Regions from separate parts of the Homo sapiens genome. Here all the other regions are linked to region 4. The links are contacts of gene promoters, found by promoter capture Hi-C in blood cells and fetal thymus (Javierre and others, 2016). All regions are on one chromosome and are shown on one strand. The core of a region is centred on a gene start or on the middle of the fragment in contact, and the rest is flanking DNA. Distances in the headings are between cores, read along the strand shown. Region 1 overlaps DESI2 (desumoylating isopeptidase 2). Region 2 overlaps HNRNPU (heterogeneous nuclear ribonucleoprotein U). Region 3 overlaps COX20 (cytochrome c oxidase assembly factor COX20). Region 4 holds the start of FH (fumarate hydratase).

Region 1 (3,236 bases), core at 180-2,679, 3.1 Mb before region 4:
AAAAACACCAGAAATAGGCATTTGGCACAAAGAGGAAGATCACATGATCTTTTCATGCCATTTAAGTTACTGGCAACTCTCCTAATAAAAACCAGCTAAAGCCCCACTCATTGAGCGGATATTTCTAGAACACCATCTAGTGACAGGCCCTGTTCTAGACACTGGTCATAGTATGGCGCTATCGGAGAACTCACAGTCTGGTGGGATGCACGGGATAGTATACGCAGTAATGGAGACAGGCACGAAGCACAACTAGGGCATAGGAGTTCACTCAAGTCTCAGGAATAAAGACTAAGCTACAGCCAGAAGGAGCAAGCAGGAGGTTGCAGGTGATCAATGCTGGACAATGCCACTCCAGACAGAAGGATGGGCATGCATAAAGATATGGGGATGTGATATAGCCTGTTTGGACAGCTAAAAAATTTCACTGTGTGAGAATAAAGACTGTTATATAGAAGAGGGAAATGGACCTTTAACTGTCAGCCAGGGGCCACATCATAAAGTGCATTACACTTTATCCTGGTTATGTTTCAGAAAGGTTACTTTGGTAACAGAATGGAGGAAGGATTAAAATGAAGTAATACTAGAGACTGAAACTCGTAAGGAGGCTATTATATGAATAGAGATGAGGGCCTGAACTTGAGAAGCATTAGTGGAAATGGGGATAAAGTAACCGATTTAAATAATATCCAGAAAGTAAAATATGTGACAGACATCATAGGTTCCCATCAAACTGCCATTTCCAACTTTTTGCCTTCCTCACCCACAACTCACCATAAAGGTTAGAAACACCAGATATCCACTTACTCAGCTTCATCACAGTTGCACACGAGCCAATTCTAGATAATCTCTTCGGGGAAGGAGTGGGGCTCTGGTAAGTTTTTCCTTTCTATTAAAAGAACAGAGGTGCATGTAGAAAATGACCCTATCTTCTTCCATCTTCCTTCACATACTGCTGACTGAGGATACTATTTGGTGCTTATGGCAGTTACTTTACAATTATGAGAGGACGAACCAAGGGCAACAGCCAACGTGCTGAGGATGGTAGAGTAAAAGGATGGAAAGTCCTGGTTCTTGATGGCACAGCTGAGCTGCTGAACTAATCCAGGGCCTGTTTATCTCTGGACTTAAGTATCCTTCCAGCTTAAGCCACTGACTCTCAAGCTCTCTGTTGCTTTCAGACAGAATCAACCAAACTAAAACAAAGAGACAGGGCCAGCTGACTGACTGTGAAGGGTTTATAATAAAGAAGAATTTAAGTTTACTCCCAGGTTTCCGGTTTGGGAAACTACAACAAAAGTGGTGGCTTTTTGGGCAGTGGCATGGGGCAAGAGGAAGAATGTGCGCTGTGGACAGGAGGAAAGGGAAGAAGTTTGTTCCTGGACATGTTGATTTGAGATACGAAGGAACCATTTAGGTGGGATGTGTGATTCTGGAACTTGTTCAAAAAGTCTGAATTAGATCTGCAGATGTATGAGAAATCGGATCTATCACACCTGCCTGACCTGACACCCTGTTGGAGGAGTCTAATGGAGACAGGCGTCAAAAGAACGGAGTCCAGACAAAAATGTCCTTATTTGAAGTGTCCTAGAAAGTGGTTCTTTTCTATTCTTTAAAGACTTTGAAGATGTATAGGTACTACTTTATAATAAAATTGGTACTGGCTGGGCACAGTGGCTCATGCCTATAATCCCAGAACTTTGGGACGCTGAGGCGGGCGGATCACTTGAGGACAGGAATTTGAGAAAAGCCTAGCCAACATGGTGAAACCCACCTCTACAAAAATACAAAAATTAGCCGGGCATGATGGCAGGTGCCTGTAATCCCAGCTACTTGGCAGGCTGAGGCGGGAGAATCACTTGAACTGGGGAGGCAGAGGTTGCTGTGAGCCGAGATCGCACCACTGCACTCCAGCCTGGGTGACAGAGTGAGAAAACAAATAAATAAAATAAATAAATAAAACTGGTAGAAACTTGTTAACACAATGAATTTGCAAACATTATCAAATACCTGCATATTTTTATTTTATAAAAATTCATTAGTCAAGATAACCTGAAAAGCACAAAATCTGGATCTATGAAAAATGAAGACTTAAAATGACTACACCAGAGATTTGTCTCAGTATTTGAAACTAATCTGAGTCACCTGCTTTGCTATGTGTGCCAGTCAATTAGGAATACGTGAACAAGCTCATTCCCACGACTCAGAAAGTAGCTCCAGGACGTTTTTATTGGTGGTAGATTACTCCAAAGTACACAGAGGAACATAATCACTGATAAGGCAGCAAGCAATAGGAACACTATGCATAATTAAGTAACCTTCTGAGGATCACACTCTTCTTCCATGAGAAGGAAGTTAATACTGGTGACCCCCAATAGAATTATTTTCATGCATACGGCAGAGTTATGGAAGAAAAGAAATGATCCGCAGCAGCCCAATCTAGAAAATAGAAAAATACAATCAGAACTGGAACGGGTGACAATCTAACAAAGAGACACAAGGACACATGGCAAGAGGTCCCTATAACCATGATTATAAGGGCATCCCTAAGGTTGATTTTCATATTTACAGAGTTGGAACCAGACAGCTGATGTACTAGGCCTATACAGACAACAGCAACCCTCATCCAAAGCATCTCTGATGAATAGGAAGAATTACCAAAGATAAAAGGAATTTACCCTTGGCATCAAACAAAAATATTTCAAAAACCAAAACTGACTTGAGAAAAATTAGTATAACAGACCAAAATTTGTATCTCAATCTAAACAACTGATCACACTGTTCCCCTCCATGAAAACCTTAAATGGTTCTGCTGGCTCAAGGAGCCCCCTCAGCCCTTCACCCAAGCCCACAACACATCTGACTAAAGAAGTTCTAATCAAACTTTCAGTTTTGTCTCCTTTCATTTATGCTCTACTCTAGTTATACTGGACCAGCTGATAGTTCCCAAATCCCACCTGCGCTTTCCCTATTCCTGCCATTTTGTTCACGTCAATTGTTCTCTGTCCTTGTGGATGCTACCCATTCTTCAAGTTTCATACCTTTGATTTTTCAGCATTCCCTGATCCTACAACTACATAGTCTCCTCCTTTGCATCCTTGTCTGCTCTTATCAAAACCATGCTATTCTGTCTTGAATTGTTGCCACTGTTGTGTATCTCCTCTACAATACTCTAAATTCCTTAAAGAAGAAAGGACAGTTAACTCATCCTTGTGGCTTCTACCAGGTCAAAAATA
Region 2 (2,500 bases), core at 1-2,500, 3.3 Mb before region 4:
CTCCTTGCTTCAGTCTCTCAAGTAGCTCGGACTAGAGGCACACACTACCACACCTGGCTAATTTTTGTATTTTTAATAGAGATGGGGTTTCACCACGTAGGCCAGGCTGGTCGCCAACTCTTGACCTCAGGTGATCCACTGTCTCGGCGTCCCAAAGTGCTGGGATTACAGGCATGAGCCACTGTGCCCAGCCTTTTTTTTTCCTTTTTAAAATAGTGACAAGGTCTCACCATGTTGCCCAGGCTGGTCTTGAACTCCTAAGCTCAAGTGATCTGCCCGCCTGAGCCTCTCAGAATGCTGGAATTACAGGTGCTTCATACTGCTAAGTTATCAAAGGTACTTATTTTTGAAGCTTCCTGTAAATTAAAAGAGGAGCTTGGAACCTTCATTTTGTTGTGACAGTTAATCACGGTTGTTATGTTAGAACTTGCCATGCAGAGCTAGGCGATTTTTTATTTAGGGTACTTCATTTTTATCAAGCATTTGAAAGGGCCACCAAAGAGTTAAAAATAAAATTTGGTTACATTACTGCTTTTGTTGGTGAGAAAAACATTAATTGTATCCTTTAATTGGCTTTAAGTTAAAGACTGACAACATGAACTTTAAAAATATTAAGTATTCTTTTAAATATGGGTCAAATAAGTATTTAACTCTTTAAATTTCAAGTTATAAGCACATCAGTTTAAAGTTCTTACAAATATTGGGGGTGGGCTAGAGTGTGCCTTCTTTGTATTTATAGCTAGAGGAAGATTAGCCCGTGGCGCAATGAAATATGCGAGAGTTAAGGGGTTACCTCCTTGGTGTATTATTTTAATTATTTAATGATTTGACTTTCAGGTTACAGAGAAGATCCCAGTAAGGCATTTATATACAAAAGATATTGACATACATGAAGTTCGTATTGGCTGGTCACTAACTACAAGTGGAATGTTACTTGGTAAAGCTTCTTTTTGACTGATGTGGGCTCATGAATGTTCAGGAGGGTCTGATTTCAGTGTTTTTTAACTAGAGGGCATTCTAAGCCTTTTGTCTGTTTTTATCTATTCTGTTAATACTTCAGACAGGTAATATTAGCACATAGTAGGCACAGGCTACATTTTAGTTTTTGTTCCTTTATTAGAAGTTTATGACCAATGGTTGAAATAAAATCTTACCCGTGATATGCAAATCGTCAACTAATTTGGTCTCTGCGTATATATCCCTCCTAACTTCCATCAATTCTGGTACAGAGATAGAAAAGTAATAGTGTCAGTGACAGGTGATTAGGTTATATGCTTATTTCTCTTGTAGCCTACATCTTAAGTAGTAAAATAGATGAGTCTTTGGACTATTTTAAACATCTACTTCATGAAGATTAATTATTTTCTTAGGTGAAGAAGAATTTTCTTATGGGTATTCTCTAAAAGGAATAAAAACATGCAACTGTGAGACTGAAGATTATGGAGAAAAGTTTGATGAAAATGATGTGATTACATGTTTTGCTGTAAGTTAAAGCTAACTTTCTATGTATAAATGGCAAAGTTAGTAGCTATATCTAGGAACTTTAAAGAAGCTTTACTGAGGTCAGTTTTCAATATGAGCAACAAAATACACCAGTCCCTGGATTAGTGTAAAGACTTCATTCAGCAGTTGAATTGGGAAAACACAGGACATTTTTGAGGAACTCACTAATTCATTTTGACTGAAAACAGTGAACATGAAATTGACCTAGAAAATTCAGTCTAGCTTCTAGGTCAGTATTGTTTCTGGTTCTGGAGATACGTGCTTCATGGTTTACAACCATCAGATTTCTTAACTGTGTAGCCCTTAAAGGCCACCTAATAGTTCTTTAACCTGTAGCTTCCACAGGATAAGCTTTGCTCCTAATTTTAATTCTTAGTTTTTTAGAAAGTTTAAGGAAGCAGATTTTAACTGTTGAATTTTTTTCTGTGTAACAGAACTTTGAAAGTGATGAAGTAGAACTCTCGTATGCTAAGAATGGACAAGATCTTGGCGTTGCCTTCAAAATCAGTAAGGAAGTTCTTGCTGGACGGCCACTGTTCCCGCATGTTCTCTGCCACAACTGTGCAGTTGAATTTAATTTTGGTCAGAAGGAAAAGCCATATTTTCCAATACCTGAAGAGTATACTTTCATCCAGAACGTCCCCTTAGAGGATCGAGTTAGAGGACCAAAGGGGCCTGAAGAGAAGAAAGATTGTGAAGTAAGGGATTTTTTTTTTTTTAACTGTGGCATTTGAATATTGCTTGCCTGGCACAAAATGACATTTAGAAGAACTAGATGATTAGTCTGTTTCATTTACTTTGTGCTGTGCATATTGCTCTTAAGTAATTGTTTCCCCCTTATGTTGACTGTTAATCTTTCCATAAACAAATTTTTGTCCGTTAGTGTAAGGGCTATGAAAACTTAGATATTTAAATTGGCCTTAACAATATTTAAAGAATTATTAGGTGGTGTCTACTGACAGTGAAATGACATTTCTTTTCTTTTCACTAGGTTGTG
Region 3 (3,240 bases), core at 671-3,170, 3.3 Mb before region 4:
TACGGAAATATTCTGTTCATAATATACATGCCTTTAACATTTCTCTTCTATTCCTTAAGTAGCCTGCATACTTAAGATTTAACTCTTTGCCACTAACAAACGGGAACCCTTAAAAATAAATTAAGGAAATGTCAGACATTTTTTAAGCTTAGATTTAGAAAAGCAGCTTTACCAGCTCACCCTGATCAATCTAAGGAAAGCTCAAGAGATTTCCAAGCCAGAATGTCAATAATGTATAGAAATAGATCTGATCAAATTAGAGACAGTTGATTTTCCACCACTAAATCTGCTTCAGTGCCCGTATTTCTTTCCTCTGGTTGCAAAGGATGAATTGGCCCTATTCCTATCTAATGCTAGTCTTCCCACTTGGGCACTTGATTCCCCTCTTGCATACTCAAGGGCTTGGCTTCTATAGCTACCCCTTTCATTTGCATCGTTAGTTTTTTCACTTGCAATAATTTACTATCAGCCCTCTTGGCCAGGTGCAGTGGCTCACCCGTCATCCCAGCACTTTGGGAGGCCAAAGTGGGTGGATCACTTGAGGTCGGAAGTTCGAGACCAGCCTGGCCAACATGGCAAAACCCTGTCTCTACTAAAAGTACAAAAATTAGCCAGGAATGGTAGCACATGCCTGTAATCCCAGCTACTCGGGAGGCTGAGGCAGAATCGCTTGAGCCCAGGAGGCGGAGGTTGCAGTGAGCCAAGATGGCACCACTGCACTCCAGCCTGGGCAACAGAGCAAGAAGACTCCATCTCAAAAAAAAAACCCAAAAATCCTCTATACACCCCTCTCCTCTCATCAGCCACCTAAACCACCATCCTTTTGGGGCAAAACTTCTGAGTGTAGGTGTGCTTTTCTACTTAAAACCTCCCATTCTCCCTTTAACTCACTTGAGTGAGGCATCTATCCACTGAACTTCACTTGACACCAGTCAAGACCTCTAAAAGACATCCACTGCAGTCTAAATCCGCATCTCAGCATATGTGGCACAAATTATCATTTGTTTTTGAAACTTTTTTACTTTTACTTGGCTTCAAATACGTCTCCTGGTTTTCTATTTCATTGACATTTTTGTTGCTGTTCCCTCCTCTACAGACCTGATTCTGAAGTGCCACTCTTAACTCCTTTGGAATCTAGTCTCTTCCTAGGTATCCCAAGGCTTTCAATTAAATGCCATTATATGATGACTCCAGATTTCTAAATCAAACCCTAATCTCTCCCAAGCTTCAGCCTCATTCATCTGCTTAATGAATGACACTTTTATGTATAAAAAGCACCTTGAACCTCGTATTTGCAAAATATATTTTCACCTCCAAACCTTCCTCTTAATGGCACACTACTCAACCAATTTTCAGACCCAAAAACTAAGAGTCATCCTTGATTCCTTCATCAAATCCACATCAAATATATTAGCAAGTCTGGAAGGATCCACATTCTAAATACATCCTGAGCCAGACCACTGCCCACCAACTTCATTGCTAATACAGGTTGAGCATCCCAAATCTGAAACTGATACATCAAAAGACAATTTTTTTTTTGAATTGGGAAGCTCAACCTGTCCTATCAAATTACCATCTATCAACAGTACCTTTCAGATCTTGATTCTACTCATAAAAATGTGTATCAGATGACTATAATAAGTCCTCTGTAGCCTCCGATTATGCTCAGAATCCTTACCATTGCTCCAAAGGCCCTACATGATCCCATGCTCTTTCATATCCTACTCTTGTCCACTAGTCCAGGTACAGTGGCCTTGCCATTCTAACAAGCCGAGATGGTTATTACCGAACGAACACATGCTGCCTTTCTCCTGGATCTTTGCATGACTGGCTCAGTAGAAGTCTTGCTTATTGATTCCTCCAGTAGAATGTCAGCTCCTTAAAGGGATTTTTCCTGTCTTGATCAGTCTAGTACCTCGTTCAGTGTCTAATACTCAGTAGGTACTCTAAATATTTTTTGAATGGGTGAATTAAGAATTTACCTGAATGTGAATTTACCTGTATGTACCAAATTTCACATTTTAAAGTTTCTTAAAGGACAAGAATGTGGCAGAGGACAGTTTTTAGGGGCTAGTTCTATCAAGGTATGCCAGCTTGGTAACTCCCATTTTTACTTTAGGTTTGCTAATTCTTATAATAAAATAATCCTCCCTGGGTTGTGCTGGAATGATCACTGACAAATTCTTTTAAAAAAAATAACCGCAGGCTTCCTTTCTGACAGCACCTTGGGCTGTTAATTCATCATAGCTTCTATTAATTTAATTAGCTTTTTGATGGGCTCTGATAGGTACTACTGTTTCATGAGCAATTTTTGTTTTTTTGGCCTCCCACCTCTGACTGTGCTCGGTTTGAGGCTTATAACTATCTTCATTTCAACAACTACAGTATTGTTTTGCTACTTACTGATGGGCCAGTTAAATAGGTCAATGTTGATCCTCTTTTAAGTTTTTTTTTTTTAATTTCCAATGGATTAAACCACCTTTATGACCTTTAAAAACAGCAGTTATCTCCTACCAAAAGTCCCATTCAGGATTCCAGTGTTTATCACAAAACTGAATCTAGGATTTACTGTGTGTATGCAAAGATCTTTTTTTTTTTTTAAACACTAAGCTTATTCCAGATGGGCAGTGTATGGGACAGTAAAAACAGATAAGGCACCAGTAGTACGTAAACTGACAACCTGTTGGATATTAAGTATGAAAACAATTTATACAATATTTGTTAATATTAACCATATGATCTGATGTCATGGCCAAATTTGGATGGAAGCCCACCAGAGAAGCAAGCAAGAGCAAGAAGTGAGCAGAATTTCCAAGCTGGGAGAATATCTTAAGTATATATTAGGAGCCATTTAGCACACAGTGGGTCTTCTATAAATATTTGCTCGTGATTAGCCAATGTTACGATCTCCCTAGTTTATATTAAACTTTTTTCCTCTTGCATTATTCTTTTCTGAATACCTGTTCTGCCCTGAGGATATAAATTAGGTTCCCTGCTCTTAATAAGGAGCCCAGGAAAAGAGGAAAACAAGATCATTTATTACCTTCCAATATGATAAATGTAACGACGTACAAGATGCCTGGGAAGATGGGGAAAGTACGTAAGTCAGCTTTGGTGAAACACAGGAGCCCTTCCAGGGAGAGCGCTTGGTTTAGCTTTACTATACCAAGAATTTGGGTTTTATCCTTAAAGAGATAGGATGGGCTGCTACGACTGGATGTTAGGCAGAGGAATGAAAAC
Region 4 (3,092 bases), core at 550-3,049:
AAGTAAAACACACAAATAAATATGTGGATGTTCCTGGGCATCAATTTTTCTCTTCTATGTACAGGAATAATAATAGGACCTATCTCATAGGGTTGTTTTTGAGTGTTCCAAGAATTAATACATATAAAGTGCTTTGAAAAATTCTAGAACATAATATGTGTCATAGGTAATTTTTAAAAGGGATTAAAATAACCTATTTATAAAAAGGCTATTAATTTGGGTTTTGAAAAGTTAAACTGTATGGTAGAAATAAGAGACATGCTCGAAACAAAAATGAAACAAAAAATAAAATAAAATGAGAAATATACAGCAGGCAAATAATAGCCAATATGAAATTGGTAGAGAAATATCAATATTAAAAAAAGTTTAAAAGGACAAGCAACAATAACAATAAAGAGGGGCACCACACAATGAAGAAAGAGATGATCTATGAAGAAATGATAAACATATGTTCATTAAATAATTTTGTGTAATAGCAAAGAAAAATGTTCTTTATTAAGAAACTGGATAAATAAAATATTTCATATTCATGTGATCCAATATGATTAATTTTAAAAGATCATGGCTATATCTTAAAAGCATAGAGTTCAATTATGCAACAGTAAAACTTTAAAGTAAAATATTAAAACCATTGTTTGTATATTAGTGTATGAAGCAAAAAATACACAGAACTGAAAGGATGCATCAAAATAATGATATACACAATAATGATACCTGCTGGGAAGGAGGAGAACAAAAACAAAACGTCATTCCATTATTAGCAATGTTTTAAAGAATTTGCATTCAGTTTTCTAGTGTGTTTTGATTGTAGTTCAACTATTACAATCTCATTTGAATTTTTATATTTTAAATATGTGTCAAATTTATAAGTCACAAAATAACATAATGTTACCAAAAGGTTTGGCAAGTTTGTAAGTTTGACTCATAAATTTGGCTTTGCAGGTTCTGGACTTTTGATTTTAAGAACATCCGATCGCTCTCTCTTTACTGTCATCTGGTTCCAAGCAATAGAAAAGAGAAAAGATAAAACTGTGGTTCAGATGCAATTTTATATCAATTCCTGCTTTTCTGTAATCAACTATTATATTAAAACAATATGCCTTTAATTTGAAAATGTATAAATTAGCTATGCAAAAAACTGGGAGAACGATATACAAATAATAAAAATTCCGAGGTTCCCTATAATTGTGTACGTCTTCCACAATACATTAAAAAAAAAAAAAGAGTTCTGAGGGTATAGGCTAAGAAGAGAAAGGAAACGGTAGCGATCTCAAAATGATAAGTTAAAAGAAATAAGTAAGTAGCTTATTTTTCAGTTGTGGGATTATGAATAATTACTATTTCATTATCTACACTTTGCTGCACTTCCCAAAATTTCTACACAGAAGATACAATCTGGAAGAAATGAAGAAAGATTTCAGTAGTAAGAACGTGTAATGAGTGATTACATGATAAATAAAACAATAAATATTTCTTTCTAGGATATTTCACCAACCAAACACGACCTGATTCACCAACTAATACTCCCGCCTTCTAACAGCCACACGTAAAAATCAGACCGGCTCCAAGAATAACCTGAGCCTCCTTTCCCATAATTCCCTTCTTTCTAGTTTCCCATGAATCCGAAGGCCTTACACCCCACACTACTACTAGAAAGTTAACCCGCCCCCTCATTCTTTACTGGTCATTCACGATTGGTCCTGCCCCACCTGTCGGTGTGAGGCTGTTGATTGGATAAGAGCGGAGGCCGGTGGGCGGAACGGTTTCTGACAACCGGCGTGGAGGCGTGGCCACAGCCGCCCAGAAATTCTACCCAAGCTCCCTCAGCACCATGTACCGAGCACTTCGGCTCCTCGCGCGCTCGCGTCCCCTCGTGCGGGCTCCAGCCGCAGCCTTAGCTTCGGCTCCCGGCTTGGGTGGCGCGGCCGTGCCCTCGTTTTGGCCTCCGAACGCGGCTCGAATGGTGAGCGCAGGCCGCCATCCCCCGGCCTCCCCGCAGTGACCTTCAGCCCTCCTGCCTGCCGGCCTGGGCGCCCGCGACTTGGCGGGAGAGATTCCCCGGGCGTCCGGGCCGCGCCAGACTCTGGGCTTAGCGCCCGTGCCGGCGTGGCGGGCCTCCCGGCCTCGGGACGCCTCTTCCGGCGCAGGGATGGAGCCGCAGCCCGGGAGAGCGCTTGGGGAGGGACGGGGGCTGTCAGAGAGGGTCCTACTGGGCCCGCTCCCGGCGCCTCCTCGGAGCCGTCCGTGGCGGGCCGAGGCCGGGGCGTTTTGAGGTAACTTCGCTGCTGCTGGCGCGCAGGCCCCCAGCCCCGGGGCGCTGCCCTCAAGGACAGTGCCGGCGTGGGCGGAGGGTGCTGGGAGAGGGGCAGCTCCCGCACCGTCCTGCCCCATAGCTGGGCCTTGCTGGCCGGACACTGGCCGCCTGTGCATCTAGTGGTTTCTGAACTGTGGTTTGTTTCGCCAAGGGGCACTGCACTGCTTTCAGGCCCTCCAGGTGGGGTAGAAGGTTCTTCGAAGATTTTACTTCCTTTGAAATTGCATGCTCAGTTTGTTAGGCTGACTATGGTTTCCCCCGTAATTGTTGTAAAACTCTTCAATTCCGAATACCGCGGGCATAGTGTTCTGAAGCATGTTTGAGCAGATTGGCTAGGAGCTGAATCGGTACTTTTTATTCAGAAAGCCAGCTAAGAACTTAAAGATCCAAGTTCAGGTTATGACATGCTTACGTAAGTCATTTTGCTCTTTAGAGTGTCATCTTTAGGAATGCAGGCTTTTAAAAAGCTTTAAATACATATGTATATTGTTAGGAAACGTTTGAGAAATGATAGTTGAAGAGTTACAGTTCTGCACTGGTGTAGCATGAGGTTTGCAATCTAAGAGATGTGATTTCAAATCCGTATGCAAAGTTGAAATACTTACAGCTACTCAGCAAAACTGCACATGTGAAAATACCATGTAGCGAGTGCTCATTAAATAAGTGCCCCATCTAGGGTATTTCAAAGGGCCAGTACTTTTTCTGGACTCTAAACTTCAAGATAATTTGATTGGGTCACTATACCTACGATATACAACTATACTACAGAATCAGAGAT

Evidence for each region. Contacts are between HindIII fragments. The CHiCAGO score rates a contact against its expected background, and 5 or more counts as called.
Region 1: a contact is called between a fragment that was not itself captured here and the fragment with the promoter of FH in region 4, in 3 of 17 cell types (total CD4 T cells, non-activated CD4 T cells and fetal thymus). The highest score is 8.9, in total CD4 T cells.
Region 2: a contact is called between a fragment that was not itself captured here and the fragment with the promoter of FH in region 4, in 2 of 17 cell types (total CD4 T cells and total CD8 T cells). The highest score is 8.3, in total CD4 T cells.
Region 3: a contact is called between a fragment that was not itself captured here and the fragment with the promoter of FH in region 4, in 1 of 17 cell types (total CD4 T cells). The highest score is 5.0, in total CD4 T cells.

The regions. Positions count from the first base shown.
Region 1 is chr1:244,655,499-244,658,734 of GRCh38, reverse strand. All of the region lies in intron 1 of DESI2 (desumoylating isopeptidase 2), which reads right to left. Among named protein-coding and RNA genes, the nearest start is that of DESI2, 4.0 kb to the right of the region's middle. The HindIII fragment of the contact is 7,268 bases long and covers 1-3,236 here.
Region 2 is chr1:244,857,712-244,860,211 of GRCh38, reverse strand. HNRNPU (heterogeneous nuclear ribonucleoprotein U) reads left to right here. Exons shown (of 14, transcript NM_031844.3): 5 at 838-937; 6 at 1,371-1,483; 7 at 1,938-2,201; 8 at 2,495-2,500. Among named protein-coding and RNA genes, the nearest start is that of SNORA100, 4.7 kb to the right of the region's middle. The HindIII fragment of the contact is 609 bases long and covers 946-1,554 here.
Region 3 is chr1:244,836,324-244,839,563 of GRCh38, reverse strand. All of the region lies in intron 1 of COX20 (cytochrome c oxidase assembly factor COX20), which reads right to left. Among named protein-coding and RNA genes, the nearest start is that of COX20, 2.3 kb to the right of the region's middle. The HindIII fragment of the contact is 1,385 bases long and covers 1,228-2,612 here.
Region 4 is chr1:241,518,462-241,521,553 of GRCh38, reverse strand. It overlaps FH (fumarate hydratase), which reads left to right and starts at 1,799. Exons shown (of 10, transcript NM_000143.4): 1 at 1,799-1,963. The coding sequence starts at 1,832. RefSeq lists silencers at 1,685-1,814, 1,637-1,919, 2,095-2,364 and an enhancer at 1,425-2,021. The HindIII fragment of the contact is 3,380 bases long and covers 1-2,783 here.